2 separate regions of the Homo sapiens genome follow, and region 1 is linked to region 2. The links are contacts of gene promoters, found by promoter capture Hi-C in blood cells and fetal thymus (Javierre and others, 2016). All regions are on one chromosome and are shown on one strand. Each heading gives the region's core, a stretch centred on a gene start or on the middle of the fragment in contact. The rest is flanking DNA. Distances are from core to core; before and after follow the strand shown. Region 1 has its middle 8.5 kb from the start of USPL1. Region 2 holds the start of ALOX5AP (arachidonate 5-lipoxygenase activating protein).

Region 1 (3,012 bases), core at 281-2,780, 130 kb after region 2:
AAAACAGATTCATTTTTTAAAAAGATTTTTAAGCCACTGGTGGTCTTTAATATATGGTTCTCACCACATAAGTTAAAATGGGGACTGTTTTTTGGTGGTCTAATCTGATTTTGTAAGTTTATTTTTGCTTCCCTACCTCTGTTTTGCTAAGCAATATAGACCTTTTCTTCCCACTTTTTTTTTTTTGTTTTAGTGTAGGCATTAGATTTACAGATCTCATTTAAACTTGGCCATATATTAATCTCAGTTTTGTTACTTCATACAAAATATTTAACCTCCCTGAGGCTCAGTTTCACTGATAAAATGAAAACATCTACTAATCCCACTTCTGTTATTTAACTAATTTTGGCCTCAGGCAAATTATTTAACCTCTCTGGGCTTCAGTTTTTCCATGTGTGAAATGAAATTCTCTTAAATGAGGTAAGACATAGAACAATGTCTGGCAGTTAATATGCCCTCACAGCAGATGTTGGTTTTCCCTCACCCTTCCACCTCATCTAAACCCTGCATGTCCTTTACAGATTGCTTTAAATTCTGTTTTCTCTTTCCTTTTCCAACTCCTAGCACTCTCTTCTAGAGTTGTTGCACTTACCATATATACCATGGATTCTTAAATGGGTATTATTACAATTGACCCTTGAGCAACACAGGGGTTAGGGACCACCCTCTCCTTCCCCATGCTTTTGACTGCCCAAAAAACGTAGCTGCTAATAGCCCACTGATGACTGGAAGTTTACTGATAGCATATATTGTTGACTAACGTATTTTGTATGTCATATGTGTTATATACTGTATTCTTACAATAAAGTAAGTTAGAGAAAAAAAGTTACTAAGAAAATCATAAGGAAAAGTAAGTATATTTACTAATCATTAAGTGGAAATGGATCATCATAAAGATCTTCGTCCTTGTCACCTTCACATTGAGTAGACTGAAGAGGAGCTGAGTGGATAAAGAAAATGTTTATGTACATCGTGGAATACTATTCATCCATACAAAGGAACGAAATAATATCTTTTGCAGCAATTTGGATGGAGCTGGAGGCCAGTATTCTAAGTGAAGTAGCTCAGGAATGGGAAACCAAAAATGGTATGTTCTCACTTAAAAGTGGGAGCTAAGCTATAAAAACACAGAGGCATAAGAATCATACAGTGGACTTTGGGGATTCGGGTTGGGGAAGAAGGTTGGATGGGGGTTAAAAGACTACATGTTGGATACAGTGTACACTGCTCAGGTGACAGTTGCACTAAAATCTCAGAAATCACCACTAAAGAACTTATCCATGTAACCAAAAACCACCTGCACCCCCCAAAACTATTGAAATAAACAGGACGGGTTGTTCTTGCTGTCTTAAGCCTCATGGCAGAGGCTTAAGAGCAGGAGCATGTAGGGAGGGAGGGAGGAGAGGCAGGCACACTCGGTGTAACTTTTATTGAAAAAAATCAAATCCATTTTATAAGTGGACCCAGGCAGTTCAAACCTGCATTGTTCAGGGGTCAACTATATATTGGGAACTTGTTAAAACTGCAGCTGCTTGGGTTTCATGCATGATTCCATGAGTTTGGCATGGGGCCTGGGCATCTATATTTTTTTCTCCCTCAGATTTTCTTACGCTTACCAATGATCACGGCCTTTCACCTATTTGTTTTTTGTTTGTTTGTTTTTTTGAGACGGAGTCTGGCTCTGTCACCCAGGCTGGAGTGCAGTGGCGCAATGGCTCACTGCAAGCTCCGCCTTCCGGGTTCACGCCATTCTCCTGCCTCAGCGTCCTGAGTAGCTGGGACTACAGGCTCCCACCACTACGCCGGGCTAATTTTTTGTATTTTTAGTAGAGACGGGGTTTCACACCGTGTTAGCCAGGATGGTCTTGATCTCCTGACCTCGTGATCCACCCGCCTTGGCCTCCCCAAGTGCTGGGATTACAGGCGTGAGCCGCCGCGCCCGGCCTCACCTATTAATCGTGTTTTTTATAGTTTCTGTTTAAAACCAGGTGTTTTAGTTTAAACCTCAAATATACTATAAACTCCATGAGGGCACAAAATTAAACTTAGTTTAGAGGTTGATAAGTAATGCCCCACCTTTTTTATCTGCCTGTGTTTGGATCCAGTTAAATCACATGAAGATTGAAATTAAGTTTACTGAAAAAAGTTGTTTCAAAAGGTAGCTGAGATTTGGAGCAACAACGAGCTGCAAAGAACTAGGCAGATTTAAAATTCGAGTTTTTCTATCAACAAGAATAGAGCTTGTCCCACTACATTTACTGTGTAAGAGAGCAGGCCAAAACAAATGACCCTCTTCAGTCAGCCAAATCCCAAATGGAAAGAAGAGAGGAAGTTGGCCGAGCCTCAGAATTTTTTCTCCCAAACTTGCTGTCAGATCAGTTAGCCCCTCCTATCCTAGAAAGGAGTTAAGAGTAGAGGTCAGCCATGAATATTACGGTAAGGAAGTTTTATGTGGAGTATGAAAGAGCTTTCCTCATGCCCTCAACAGTACTCAATAGGTATTAATGGATTTTTTTTTTAGTACTTTGCATCGGGTTGCTGTGATTTTTAGTACCTAAATAAGTTATGAAGTTACAACTTCAGTTAAATCAGTATGTATTATTGTATTAGTTATATTTTGTTATGTAACAAATTATTCCCCAAACAGCTTAAAACAACAGACATTTGTCATTTCATACATTGTGTATGAAATGATACATGGTCAGGAATCTGGGAGTGGTTTAGCTGAGTGGCTCCAGTTCGGAGCCTCTTATGTGGTTGCAGTCATCTAAAGGCTGCTTGAGTGTCTTCACAAAATGACACCTGGCTTTTCCCCCAGAGCACGTGATCTGAGAGAGAGGCAGAAACCACAGTGTCTTTCACAACCTAACCTCGGAAGTGACCTACTGTCACTGTGCTGTATTCTATGGGTTACACAGACCTACCTACACAAAGGTATGAATACCAAGAGGTGAAGGATTCATTGGAGGCCATCTTGGGGGCCGGCTACCACAATTTTATAACATGTTAATT
Region 2 (2,910 bases), core at 58-2,557:
AAATGGTGGCCTAAATAAGCCATTTGTTCCCTCTCTGAGCTACAACTTTGTTGTGTGTAATTTAGTATAAAAATGTTTGGGTCAGAAAGCCACAAAGTGTAGTTCTTGTAGAAAACATACTTGGAGTGTGTGAAGCTGAGCCTTTCTGGTGCAGAGGCTGAGGGGGAGGCTTGCTCTGTGCCCAGAAGGCTACATCACCAGCATCTGTCCACACTCAAGATGGGGGAAAATAGAATATCCCAAAGTGATTAAATACTCAAAGTTCCAAAAACGTGACAGCATGTCAATGTTCAGTAATCACCATAAAGCTACAGCAGCTGCCCTTAGTAATTACTCTTTTTTTCTCTATCTTAATAAATATAAAACACAAAGCCACTGGAGATAGTTATGAAAGTGGTCTGAGGCAGCCCTAACTCAGAACTTTAGGAAGACAGCTCTACACAATTCTCCCTTTTCCAGATCTAGGTATCCTGCTTGTTTTTTGTTGTTGTTGTTGTTTTTAACTAATAGCAGGAATAATGGAAATGCAAACGCTGAACAGGACAATTTTCCTCTCTCTCTCTCTCTTTCTGAAGTATACACTGCATATGAAAAATGCTTCCAAAATTATACGTGCTAGAGAAAAAGAAGGTATCACCAAAAAAAAAAGTTTCTTCAGGAGAAAAAAAGAAAAAAGTAATATAGAGGAAAAATAATAAGATGATTTTTTCTACGCACCTCCCAAAATCACTTTCTTTTTAGACTGCAGATGACTGGTAACTTCAATTGCACTGCAGATGTTAGAAAAGCCCAGTATCTGAGTAAATGTGTATATCATGTTCCCTTTCTAGTCTTCTCACCTTCCACCCCTTGCCTGGCCACATTAATTAATAGTTAAAATGCTGATCATAGACACTTCGGTGAGGGTTTTAGCAAAACCTTCAAGTTGCAGCCCTGGCTCTAAAAATGGGACTGGTAATCACCACAAAAGTGAAAGACTAAGAGGAGGAAAACCCCAAATTTACACAGAAATACACACAACCCTATACATTCAAATAAAAAGAAGAAAATAAAGATAAGGTAAAAGTGTTTGTGCATGCGCACACACAGACACAATTGTTTAAGCCTGACTTCCAAACAACCATCAAAGAAAATCTCCCCTTCTGTTCTTCCCTGAGTGAAGGGCTTTCCTTACCATTCTGGACCACGCTGATGAGGGTGACGATGGCCAACAGGACAACATTGCCTACAGTTTCTTGATCCATGTTTGCTTCAGGCTCCCCAGAGAGGACTGCTCTGCCTCCAGCTGCACAACCTGCCCTGTACAGGAAGGGGAAGTGAGAGCTTGCACTCTTTCATCATTACAATTTCTGAAGATCCCCGGCACAATTACACAGTGCCTTCTTCTTCCTTTTTTTTTTTTTTTTTTTTTTTTTAACTAACCACCAAAATGCCCTGGCTGTGGTTCAGTGTGTCCCACCAGGAGAAGCAGGGCTTGGCAGAGGAGCACGCAAAGCCAGCACACTCTCCTACATTTCCTTGTCATGGGAAACTTCCCTGAGAGTCTCCAGAATGAATCCTGGACCCAAGACCATGACCAGCACGAGCCCAGCACAGGCACCAGAGAATCTGGAAGCTGCCATCATCTCTGACTTCAGCAAAGAGAAAGAAGGGAAAGTAAACCCAAAACTTTCAGGTCAGACAGAGTGGCATAAACCTGTAACCCCAGCATTTTGGGTGGCTGAGGTGGGAAGATTGCTTGGGCCCAGGACTTTGAGGCTACAGTGAGCCAATGATTATGCCACTGCACTCCAGCCTGGGCAACAGAGCAAGACTGTCTCACACACACACACACACGCACACACAAATGTAAAATGAAACTTTAAAAAAATGTATAGAACACCAAAAGATCTGTGCCCCAAATACTGTCCTTCTTTTTTTGAATTCCAAGAAAAAAAGTGAACACTTAACACACGGTAAGTAGCAGCCACATAAGGTTTGAATGAAGGAAGGAATAAATGGCAGTGGGGAGGGACAGCTGATATCTCCATTTCTTCAGAGAAAAGTAATAAAGGGAATTCATAAATTAAACCAAAGAATTCAAACCAAACCAAAGAATTCAGGTAAAAGGCAGAAATGGAGTTACAGATGATCCCTAAGGGAAATTCCCAAAGGGAACTGACTTTTCTGAGGCAATCGCAGAAACACCTTCCTGGAAATTCTTTTCAACTGAATAAGAGTAGAGTGGCTGTGCTTTCTGAGAAAGTATAAGAGTGGACCTGCTGGGTGGGTGAGGTGGCTGCCTGGTATTCTGCAGCTCAGATCAGTGTGAATGGCAATCCCTCTGAGGTTACATGGAAAATGCAAAATACCTGCAATCTTTGTCCCAGACTTAGCTATTTGGCATTGGTTAAGAGGTGCTTTTATCAAAACTTCACTTTGAAAGGGAACATGGACCACTGTAACTAGTGGCAGCAGGGAGGGCTGCATCTCGGCACGGAAGAGGTCAGTGTAGGGGAAGATATTGCTCCCTCATAGGTACAGTGCCAGAGGCCCGCTTCAATGCCCTCGGTTCAGCTGAGAGAGAAAGGCTGATGAAGGCAGCGTGCAGAGTTGTGTGCGGGGAAGCCAGCAGCCAGGGCTGTCGGGCTGGTCATGACACACTTGGGTACTCCCTGAGTACCTAGGGCACTTTGTAGAGTATAGACTTTATATTAGCCAAGGCTCTCCAGAGAAACTGAACCAATATATAAATAAGTCTCCTCATATATATATATTGCAGATTTATAATAGAAATTGGTTCACATGCTCATGGACACCATGAAGTTTCATGGTTTGCCATCTGCAAGCTGGAGACTCAGAAAAGCTGCTGGTGGAGACCAGTCTGCATTCAAAGGCCTGAGCATCAAGGAGGGCAATGGTGCAAGACCC

What was found. Contacts are between HindIII fragments. The CHiCAGO score rates a contact against its expected background, and 5 or more counts as called.
Region 1: a contact is called between a fragment that was not itself captured here and the fragment with the promoter of ALOX5AP in region 2, in 1 of 17 cell types (neutrophils). The highest score is 5.1, in neutrophils.

The regions. Positions count from the first base shown.
Region 1 is chr13:30,607,913-30,610,924 of GRCh38, reverse strand. It overlaps a transcript of HMGB1 not described here. Among named protein-coding and RNA genes, the nearest start is that of USPL1, 8.5 kb to the left of the region's middle. RefSeq lists an enhancer at 2,967-3,012. The HindIII fragment of the contact is 4,747 bases long and covers 1-3,012 here.
Region 2 is chr13:30,733,940-30,736,849 of GRCh38, reverse strand. It overlaps ALOX5AP (arachidonate 5-lipoxygenase activating protein), which reads right to left and starts at 1,307. Exons shown (of 5, transcript NM_001629.4): 1 at 1,175-1,307. The coding sequence starts at 1,244. The region is part of intron 2 of LOC124903146 (a long non-coding RNA gene); the gene reads left to right. The HindIII fragment of the contact is 8,013 bases long and covers 1-2,910 here.